Regions from separate parts of the Homo sapiens genome. Here regions 2 and 3 are each linked to region 1. Evidence: promoter capture Hi-C in 16 types of primary human blood cells and fetal thymus (Javierre and others, 2016). All regions are on one chromosome and are shown on one strand. The core of a region is centred on a gene start or on the middle of the fragment in contact, and the rest is flanking DNA. Distances in the headings are between cores, read along the strand shown. Region 1 holds the start of MFN1 (mitofusin 1). Region 2 overlaps PIK3CA-DT (PIK3CA divergent transcript). Region 3 has its middle 5.1 kb from the start of ACTL6A.

What was found. Contacts are between HindIII fragments. The CHiCAGO score rates a contact against its expected background, and 5 or more counts as called.
Region 2: a fragment that was not itself captured here is called in contact with the fragment with the promoter of MFN1 in region 1 in 1 of 17 cell types (total B cells); the score reaches 5.6 in total B cells.
Region 3: a fragment that was not itself captured here is called in contact with the fragment with the promoter of MFN1 in region 1 in 3 of 17 cell types (neutrophils, naive B cells and monocytes); the score reaches 8.8 in neutrophils.

Annotation. Positions count from the first base shown.
Region 1 is chr3:179,345,699-179,349,337 of GRCh38, forward strand. MFN1 (mitofusin 1) reads left to right here and starts at 2,011. Exons shown (of 18, transcript NM_033540.3): 1 at 2,011-2,112; 2 at 3,147-3,265. The coding sequence starts at 3,154. RefSeq lists enhancers at 1,720-2,249, 2,583-2,802 and a silencer at 2,303-2,462. The HindIII fragment of the contact is 3,693 bases long and covers 1,377-3,639 here.
Region 2 is chr3:179,105,412-179,109,050 of GRCh38, forward strand. The region is part of intron 2 of PIK3CA-DT (PIK3CA divergent transcript); the gene reads right to left. Among named protein-coding and RNA genes, the nearest start is that of ZMAT3, 35 kb to the left of the region's middle. The HindIII fragment of the contact is 1,729 bases long and covers 680-2,408 here.
Region 3 is chr3:179,556,054-179,559,692 of GRCh38, forward strand. No RefSeq gene overlaps it. Among named protein-coding and RNA genes, the nearest start is that of ACTL6A, 5.1 kb to the right of the region's middle. RefSeq lists a silencer at 2,748-3,042. The HindIII fragment of the contact is 6,108 bases long and covers 1-3,639 here.

The DNA of each region.
Region 1 (3,639 bases), core at 761-3,260:
CTCATGATCCAAACTGCTGGGATTACAGGCGTGAGCCATCGCACCCGGCAAGATTAATCTTTTCGTTAAACATGTAATAGAAAGTTACCCCGAAAATCATCTAGACCTGGCTAGTTTTGAATATGTGGGAAACTTAGCCTATTCGAGTTTTCTATTTTTTCTCGGTCTAATTTTGGTATTTGATGTTTTCCCAGATTTTATACTTCATCTAAGCTTTTCAATTTGTTGGCATTTATATATATATCTATAGTTATTCTCCCCTTAATTTGTGTCCTTTCATTTTTTATGTTCTTGAACAGATTTGGCAGTGATACATCAAATTGATAATTTCTTTCAAATAACGTTAGTTTTTGTTAATATCTATGTTGGTTTTAGCGTTTATATTTTAATTCTTTTCCTTCTTTGTGTTTACTCTCCTGGCTTTTTGGTAATATGTGTGTTCCACACACACACAAAAGCAATGGATTAAATTTCTTATTACTTACTATATTAAACATTTAATTACCGTGCTATAATTTATAGCCTGTAATATGTCACTCTTGCTTTAAAATGCAGTAATTATATTAAATATAATTATTAAGTACAGAACTAATAAAAGGATACCATCATGATTTTTAAAATTCAAACAGAGTAAATGTTCCCTTTGAGACTACCTATGCTCAGAACTGATGGATTAGCTGGCACGACCCAGACCGATAAACTGGCTCATCTGACCTAGTGTCCCCCAACCCAGGAACTGACTCGTGCAGAAAGACAGCTTCCACTCCCTGCGATTTCATCCCTGACCAATCAGCACTCCTGGCTCAGTGGCCTCCCCCAACCCACCAAATTGTCCTTAAAAATTCTGCTCCCCAGTGCTGCTCGGGGAGACTGATTTCAGTAATAATAAAACTCCAGTCTCCCATACAGCCGGCTTTGCGTGACTAAGTCTTTATTTGCAATCCCCCTGTCTTGTATCAGTTCTGGCTAGTCAGCGGGCAAGGTGAAGGCTTTCCTTGGGCGGTTACCATCCGAAGCTTTAATTTTAAGTATAATGGCAAGCTGTTGGAAAGCTTTTTTTTTTTTTTTTTTTTTTTTTTTTTTTTTTTTGAGATGGAGTCTGGCTCTGTCGCCCAGGCTGGAGTGCAGTGGCGCGATCTCGGCTCACTGTAACCTCCGCCTCCCGGGTTCAAGCAATTCTCTGCCTCAGGCTCCTGAGTAGCTGGAACTACAGGCGCCCGCCACCACCACGCCCGGCTACTTCTTGTATTTTTAGTAGAGACGGGCGTTCACCGTGTTAGCCAGGATGCTCCCGATCTCCTGACCTTGTGATCCGCCCGCCTCGGCCTCCCAAAGTGCTGGGATTACAGGCGTGAGCCACCCCGCCCGGCCTGGAAAGCTTTTTAAGTTCGGAAAGTAATACGATCTGGATTTCTTTTCTTTTATTTATTTATTTATTTATTTGAAAAAATGTCTCGCTCTCTTGCCCAGGCTGGAGTGCAGTGGCACGATAAATCACAGTTCGCTGCAGCCCCGGGCCCAAACAATCCCCCCGCCTCAGTCTCCGAAGTAGCTGGGACCACAGGTGTGTGCCACCACGCCTCGCTAAGTTTTTAAAATTTTTTTAATTTTTCATTTTTTAATTTTGTAGAGACGGGGAGGAGGAAGAGGGTCGGGGGCGGGGGGGGGGGCGCCTCCCTATGTTGCCCAGCCTAGTCTCGAACTCCTGGGCTTAAGAGATATCCCACCCCTTCGGTCTCCCAAAGTGCTGGGATTATAGGCGTCAGCCACCACCATCATTGGAAGCTAGCTAAGCCTAGGCTGGGCAGATACTTGGACACTTTGAGGGGAGAAGGGAGGGGAAGAAGTTGGAAGGGGGAACGGAAAACCACTCTCCTGGTAGCAGTCTCTGCCCACAACAAACCTTGCCTTCTGCCCTTAAGGAAAATGGCGCCTGGCATAGATGCGCTTCCGGCCACGGAGCCAAACAGAACAGAGGAGGCAAGAGGCCGGAAGTGACCGCCCTTTGCCACTCCCCCTGCCTCCTCTCCGCCTTTAACTTCTCGGGAAGATGAGGCAGTTTGGCATCTGTGGCCGAGTTGCTGTTGCCGGGTGATAGTTGGAGCGGAGACTGTGAGTGCCGGCTGCCTCGACAGCACGTTTGCGACGCTCGGAGTGACCTTCGAGCGACTGGGGACCGGGGGCGGGAGTCGTGCATGCAGCGTTGTGTGACGAGGCGCCGCCCGCCGCGGTCCTGTGGGAAAGGAGAGAGCCAGCTGTCGGGCGAACGGGGCTGGCGGCCGAGTCGAGCCCACGGAGCCCACGAGGCCGTGCTCGGGGGTGGGATTGGGGGATCCGGACCTAGACGGTCGTGCGCGGGGCGGGGGTGGGCTCTGGCCCTGACTCCTGCGCCCGGTGTGGGAAGGTGGGAGGCCTTTTCTAAGGCAGGTGTTCACACCGGCCGGACCGGGGCGTTACCCCCACCCGGCTTTTCCCACGCAGCTCCTTCGCGCGGTCATTTCTTGACTCTCTGGAAGAATCCGCCTTCTTTATGGCCACTGTTCCTTTCCATGTACACACCAGGATTAGACCGTGATTGTTTGTCTTTGGTGTCTTTTTCTTGAGAAACCACCTATGCTTTCTTAAACTTATAGTCCTTGAAGTTTCTGGTACTTTGGCTGGAAGCGTTAATGCCCTCTTGAAGCCTTACCTTTCTAAATGTCAGCCTCACATTGTGATCTTAGAATTTTATTTCCTCACTCTGCATATCCACTCCTACTCACCTAGAGCTTCAGGTTGAGAAACTTAGTAACTTCCTTATTGTGTGTGAATTTGGCTTCGCCTCACTAACCCTGTTCCCTGATGTACTTTAGAGTCACATGCAGTGACAAACTTAGTCACAATTAGTTTCGTCTTCACCAAAGGGAAATTGAGTAGAAATTGCAACCAAGATTTTGGCTAATAGATTTCACTTATTTTAGTGAAATATCATTCAAAAGTCGTCTCTAACTGTCTGACTAGAACACTCCCAAAAAAGAATTACCTAAAAACATTTTGCCAGCATAATTTATTTCATTGGGGAGTTGATGAATGTCACTGGTGTGTCATCAGTTTGCATGTCTATCATCCACTTTAGTTGGTGCTTTTCTAACTTTATCTCCCTCTAGTAGCATAATGGCAGAACCTGTTTCTCCACTGAAGCACTTTGTGCTGGCTAAGAAGGCGATTACTGCAATCTTTGACCAGTTACTGGAGTTTGTTACTGAAGGATCACATTTTGTTGAAGGTTAGTTCTTCTTAAGTTTTTAAAGTAATTACTGTTGAAAATATATAAAAGTGCTTATTCTTTCAACGTTAGTTATTGAACACATGTATAGGGCATTATACTGTATACTATGAGAAGTACCATAATGAATAAAACCCCTTTCTAACCTCCAGAAGGGGAAAATTAAATGGTATTAATAACAACTAAGAACTTTAGTATATTAATAGCTCATTTAATTTTCATCACCACTAGGTGATGAGAAATAGCTATGTTAATAGTTCATTTAATTTTCATCACCACCATCTGTCATTTTAAAGATGAAGAGACGAAGTCAAAGAAAAGTTAAACAGTTTGCCCAAGATCACACAGCTAATAAGTGCCCAGACAAAAAATCA
Region 2 (3,639 bases), core at 294-2,793, 240 kb before region 1:
TTCAAGATTTGTCATTAATTATTTCTTTATCCAATAAACATTGATAGATTATTAAATGCATTGACAGATTAAGTAACAAATACATTGACAATAAATTAAACATTGATAGATTATTAAACAAAGACTATAACGAAGTGCTATGAGAGTATTTCTTCTGCTGATTTTATAATTCTCCGATAGCAAGTACGGACTTAATTTGTTGCTTTTGTACAGGCAAAAACTGTATTTTTGTCTTTGAAGACTCCATGTTTTCCCACACAACTTTGATACATAGCAAGTCCTCAGATTTTACACTCAGCTACTTACTAGTCTCCAATCATAATAATACACTCTCATATCTCTGTAGTTTGCATATGTTATTTCTCACATGTGGAAAGATGCCCAACCTTATACACACACACACACACACACAAAACCACAAACACAGACACCATCCCTTTCAAGTTCTTTCTTTTTTGCCAAGCCTTCAGTGACCATCATAAGCATATCAGTGCTCCCATAACGTTCTGAAAATGCCTATATTAGTGATAGTTCCATGTAATAGCATATTTGACTGCCTCCTCCCCTAGACTTTCAGCAGTATGTCATATTTTGGTATAGCCACCACCCAGCATTTCTCTCACAGAGTAGGCTTTCTGTAACATTTTGTTCAGTGATTTAGGTGTGTTATAGAAAGTCAAGCTTCTGTGTTTGAGGTCTGATTATGACTCATAAATGTAGGTACCAATATCTTTTGGTGTGGTAGCATATTGATAAGACTTATGAAACTGGCCAATAAAGGCTGGGTACAGTGGCTCATGCCTGTTATCCCAGCACTTTAGGAGACCAAGGCAGGAGGATCACTTGAACCCAGCAGGTCAAGGCTGCAGTAGCTATAATCACACCAGTGCACTCCAGCCTGGGTGACAGAGCAAGAACCTGTCAAGAAAGAAAAGAAAGAAAGAAAGGAAAAGAAAAGGAAAGGAAAAGAAAAGAAAAGAAAACTTGTCAATAAGTCAGAAGCCCTTCCAAGACAGATCCAAAATTCATGATAACTCATTGTTATGTAATACTAATACTACGGAGAAGTATAAAGTAGAGGAGAAGCAAAAAAAAAAAAAGAGAGAGAGAGAGGTAGCATAAGGAAGAGAATAGTGGGGAGAAGAGAAGTTAGAAGGAGAAGAAGACAAAAAAAAAAGGCTAACAATGTTCCATGCACTATGCTAAGTACTTTATCTCATTAAATTGTTATAACAACCTTATGGTAGATATATAAATAACCCCATTTTACAAAAGAGGCTCTTAAAGTTTAAGAAACTTACTCAAGGACACAGACAGTAGGTGATGGGGTTTACAAAGAGTCTATTGACCTTTATCTTTGTCTGAAAACTACCCTTCAACTAATTCCACATTCAGTCCACTTGTTAGATAAATAATATGTAGGTTTTCTAAATACACTCTTGTAACGTCTTGGTTTATCCATCACACAGCTTTAGGACAGGAGAATTCAAGTGAAACAGTATAGAATCACCACTGAGTACTTCTAACTTACATTAGATTAGAAATATTTGTCAAAGATTATGTGAATTAAGAAATTTGAGGCCGGGTGTAGTGGTTCACGCCTGTAATCCCAGCACTTTGGGAGGCTGAGGCGGGTGGATCACTTGAGACCAGGAGTTCGAGACCTGCCTGGCCAACATGGTGAGACTCTGCCTCTACTAAAAATACAAAAAATTAGCCAGGTGTGGTGGTGTACACCTGTAATCCCAGCTACTGCGTGGGCTGAGGTGGGAGAATCGCTTGAGCCGGAAGTGGAGGTTGCGGTGAGCCGAGATCATGCTACTGCCCTCCAGCGTGGGCGACAGAGCGAGACTCCGTCTCAAAAAAAAAAAAAAAAAAAAAGGAAAGAAAGAAATTTGAGTGCCAATGATAGTTGATTAAATCAGGTTGACAGACTATGTTTAATGCTTCCCATGATTTATAAGTGAGCAAAGCAAACCTCTAGAACAGCAGTTCCCAACCTTTTTGACACCAGGGACAGGTTTTGTGGGAGACAATTTTTCCACAGACTGGGGTAGGGGTGATTTTGGAATGATTCAAGTGTATTACATTTATTGTGCACTTTATTTCTATTATTATTTCATTGTAATATATAATGAAATAATTATACAACTCGCCATAATGTAGAATCAGTGGGAACCTTGAGCTTGTTTTCCTGCAACTAGACAGTCCCAACTGGGGGTGATGGGAGATAGTGACAGACCATCAGGCATTAGAATCTCATAAGGCAGTGCAACCTAGATCCCTCGCATGCAGAATTCACAGTAGGGTTTGCACTCATATGAGAATCTAATGCCACCACTGATCTGACAGGAGGCAGAGGTCAGGTGTTAATATGAGCAATAGGGAGTAGCTGCAAATACACATGAAGCTTTGCTTGCTTACCCACCACTCGCTTCCTGCTGTGTGGCCTGGTTCTTAACAGGCCACAGACTGGTACCAGGGGTTGAGGTCCCCTGCTCTGGAGTATATACATAATTATCTCTTTATAGGATATTTATCATTTACTCTGCTTTATTTTTCTTGATTTTCGTAGCTGACTTGGACATTTGTTTGCCTCCTCTCCCCACACCTCACTCCCAGAATCTGTATCCCCTTCCATCTTTTTGGCTTTTTGTCAGCTATCCTTAATATAAAAAAAAAAAAAATGAAATCCAAAAGAATTAGACAACGCAGTGAGCAAATGAAAACTTAAAATACACAAATAATGACTATTCATGTCCTGTGAAATAATAGACAATAGGATATCTGTGAAACAAGAGCAGGATGCTATAAGAACACTCAGAGGCAAAGTATGTTAGTTATCTATTGCTGCATGACAAATTACTTCAAAACTTAGCAGCTTACAACAAGTATTATCTCACATAGTTTCTGTGAGTCAAGAATCTGGGAGCAACCTAGCTAAATGGTTTGGAATCAGAGTCTCTCATAAAACTGCAGTCAAGCTGTCATCTGGGGCTGCAGTTTTCTGAAGATTTGGAGGACCCTCTTTAAGATGATTCATTACATGGCTGCTGGTAAGATATCTCAGTTTAGCTACACAGACCTCTCCATAAGATTCTGGTGGGTTCTCATGACATAGTTACAGCAAGTAATCAAGAGAAAAAGCAATCAGAAAGCCACAATGTCCTTTATAATCTAGTCCCCAAAGTCACACACCATCGCTTGCTCTTTTTCTAAAATTCATTAGAAGCAAGTTACTAATCTAGCCCATATGCAAGAAGAGGGTTATCAGGCAAAAGTTTTTTGATAGGAGCATCAGAAAATTTGTGGACATACTAAACCACCACACAAGACAAAAAAAATTGCTCTAGGAAATGATTATATATGTGATCAAAGCACGACCATCAAGATAAAAATTCAGTAGAAGTACTATCAGGTAAAGTTGAAAAAATTTGCCCAAAAGTCAAAGATGATTAATATGAGAAAAAATGGCTCAAAAAATAGAGCTTTAATCCAGAAGTTCAAACACCCAAATTATTGGAATTTCAAGAAGAAAGAACAAAGAATATAAAAGTGGGACATAATTGTATTAGGTTGTTCTTGCATTGCTATAAAGAAATACCCAAGGCTGGATAATTTATAAAATAAAGAGGTTTA
Region 3 (3,639 bases), core at 745-3,244, 210 kb after region 1:
AAATCACAGGCTCTACCTAAACAGCTAATGAATGAACAAAACATCTTATATAAAAGCTCCATCTTAACAGAAGTTTAAAAAAGTTCTGTGTTGGTGAGAGTTGGAGGAAAAAGTGTACTCCCAAACATATTATTGGGGAAATGTAAATTGTTTAAGTCCTGTGTAATTTGGCAATGACCATTACAATTAAAAATGTATATACCCTGTGACCCAGCAAAGTCTCTTCTGCTAATTCATCCTGCACAAAAACTCTCATATATGCGCAAAGAAAAGAATAGTCATTACAGCATTCTTTGTAATAGTAAAAGACTAGAAACAACTTAAATGTCTCTTCAATAGAGAACTGGTGAAATAAATCATGGCATATACAGGTAATAGAATTCTGTGCTGATGTTAAAAGGAATAAGAATTATACAGGTTGACATGGACTGACCTCCAAGATAATACTGTTAAGTAAACAAAGTCAAGTACAAAATCACTTGTTCAGTTATGTAAATAACAATAATGGGGGGAAGGAATATAAATATATGTTTCTATTTGAAAAGACTATCTCTGGAAGGTTACATAAGAAACTGGTAACAGTAGTTCAATTTGGGGAGAGGAACTGAGGAATTGGGAGGATTGAAAGAGGAGAAAGGGAGCTTTGTTTTTCACTGTTGTGTCATTTCAGTTTCTAGCCGTATGTATACCATTTAAAATTATTAAAATAAAAATGTCCAAAGTAAATATTTTAAAATTGATTTCCAAAAAGAATAATGCTTTTTTTTTTTTTTTTTGAGACAGCGTTTCTCTCTGTATCCTAGGCTGGAGTGCAGTGATGCGATCATGGCTCACTGCACCCTGGACCTCCCAGCTTCAAGTAATCCTCACACCTCAGCCTCTTAAATAGCTGGGACTACATGCATACACCACCAGCCTGGCTAATTTTTTTTATTACTTTTTGTAGAGACAGGGGTCTCACTGTGCTGCCCAGGCTGGCCTTGAACTCCTGGGCTCAAGCAGTTCTCCCACCAGGGCCTTCCAAAGTGCTGGGATTACAGGTGTGAGTCACTGTGCCCAGCCGAGAATGCTTTTTTTTTTTTTTTTTTGAGACGGAGTCTTGCTCTGTCGCCCAGGCTGGAGTGCAGTGGCGTGATCTTGGCTCAGTGCAAGCTCCGCCTCCCGGGTTCACGCCATTCTCCTGCCTCAGCCTCCCGCGTAGCTGGGACTACAGGCGCCCGCCACCACGCCCGGCTAATTTTTTATATTTTTAGTAGAGACGGGGTTTCACCGTGTTAGCCAGGATGGTCTCGATCTCCTGACCTCGTGATCCACCCGCCTCGGCCTCCCAAACTGCTGGGATTACAGGCGTGAGCCACCGCGCCCGGCCCGAGAATGCTTCTTAAAGATCCCTAGTGTATTGTGAGTTACATTTGGATCAGAAAAAATAGAGAAGGGGGAATATATCTACATAATCAGTTGTATAAGCATAGAACCACCCTGAAGAGGAGACGGCTAGGGATACAGGTAAAAGGGAAGACTTAGTTCTCTGTATCTTTTTATACCTTTAGATTTACATACATGTCTGTGTATATACATATATAATATATACAGATTATATTATTATATATTATATATAATTGAAATGATTGTTTTTCAAGTTTACTAGAAGCATGGAAGTGGAAAGAGAAAGCTATCTTGAAGTAGAAACAGCATACTCAGTAGGTTCAGACAACTCTAGTTTCAAATCCTGACTCTCAATAGCTTTGTGATGTTGGGCAAGCTGGTAAATCTCTGGGCCTCTTCTGCCAAAACCCTCAGAAGGATAAGTCGATTAATGGAAAATATTGTATATAAAGCGTCTTTCCTATGATAGCACATAAAGTTCAGTAATTTGTGGTCATTATTATCGTGTGGCCGATGAAATCCTTTCTATTCCAAAGCAGTTTCAAGTGTTCCAAAGAAGCCATCCTTAGCAAGAACCTTGGACTCAGGAGAGTATTGCTCCTCGAGCTGTGTAACAGCCTTACAACATGGTGTTGCTACTGACCTAGATCAATGAGAAGCCCTGATTTGCCCAAAAGTGGCCCCAAGTGACACAGTGTCACTTTACAGCACCAGTTGATTAAATGTTGGCATTGCTAACTCACATGGTGATTTTCCCCAAAAGCTATATTGAATGAACAAAGAAGAGGTTTTTTTTTTTTTTTAAAGATAATGAAATAACAATATAGACTCGTACAACTCACCGAGAATTTAGCATCTCATCTTTTTTTCTTTACTTTCTTGTCTGTTCAGGACCATTGTTAATACCATAGCAAACCTATTAGTGTGTTATAAAGTTACCAGCTGTGACCAAACATACTTTTATTTGCTTCTTTATAGATCTAGGTTACATTATTGAAATGGATAGATCTCTTACTATTCTGATGGCAAACATGTATGAATCTTACCAATCATATTTCTATTGTTGAAAAACCCTATATATGATACCAGGTATTTATCTTTTATCTCAGTAGTGCTTGGATGAGTGTTATACATTTGGAACTTCAGTACGCAAAGGATGGTGCTTACAATGACTCCTCATACACACAAAAATGTCTATTTTGAAAATTGCTTTTTACTACTGCCAACTTTATATATTTTGCAGCATGAAACAAAATAATTCTAAATGTACATAAATTTTTGTGTCATTTCTTCCTGACGGATGATAATTTTCTGAATTTGTTTCCTAGCTTGCATAAACAGCAGTTGCATTTTTTTTTCAATGCTGAACTTAATAAAAGCTGAGACAGAGGATAAGATATGTAACATTTTGTAATGACTGCTGAAATTCCATAACCTGAGTGCTGACAGGGCTGGTGAAGAAAGTAGAGAGGATCCAGCATCACAAGTCCTGGTGGATCATTACAAGAATGGACGACCAGCGACCCAATGTGGCAAAGCCAATTGTTGCACCTGGGGCCACAGAAGAAATTCTTGATGCTTGGATATTACAAATGATTTTTGAAAGCCTCTTTATTTTTGTAAACTGGATTCGGAATCAACCACTGAGCACCTACTCTGGGCTAGATAAATTTATATACCTGTTACTTCAACATCTTTTGTTTTTAGGTTGACATACCTGATATATTGGTTCAGGGGGAAAATTGCAAGCATTGATAGTTTTGATATGCTGTGCCTTTGAGAACTGAAATAACAGACAATAACCTTGAGTTGTTGCAGTTTAATCTGACTAGTTATTGACAACATTAATATAGGCTGAGCCAAGACTTTAGAGAAAACATGTTAGACAACAGGGGAGAAATATCACTACTCAAAAAACCCCAACCCTCATATATTTTATATTTCATAAAGCAGATTTTGCTGGGTTAGTACTTTTGTTTTAATGTACTTTCAACTAGTTTTCCTAAGAATTGAAGATTGGGAGGCCGAGGCAGGTGGATCTCTTGAGGCCAGGAGTTCAAGACCAGCCTGGCCAACATGGTGAAACTCCTTCTCTACTAAAAATACAAAAATTAGCTGGGCATGGTGGCACATGCCTGTAGTCCCAACTACTGGGGAGGCTGAGGCAGGAGAATCACTTCAACCTGGGAGATGGAGGTTGCAGTGAGCCAAGACCATGCCACTGCACTCCAGCCTGGGCTATAGAGCGAGACT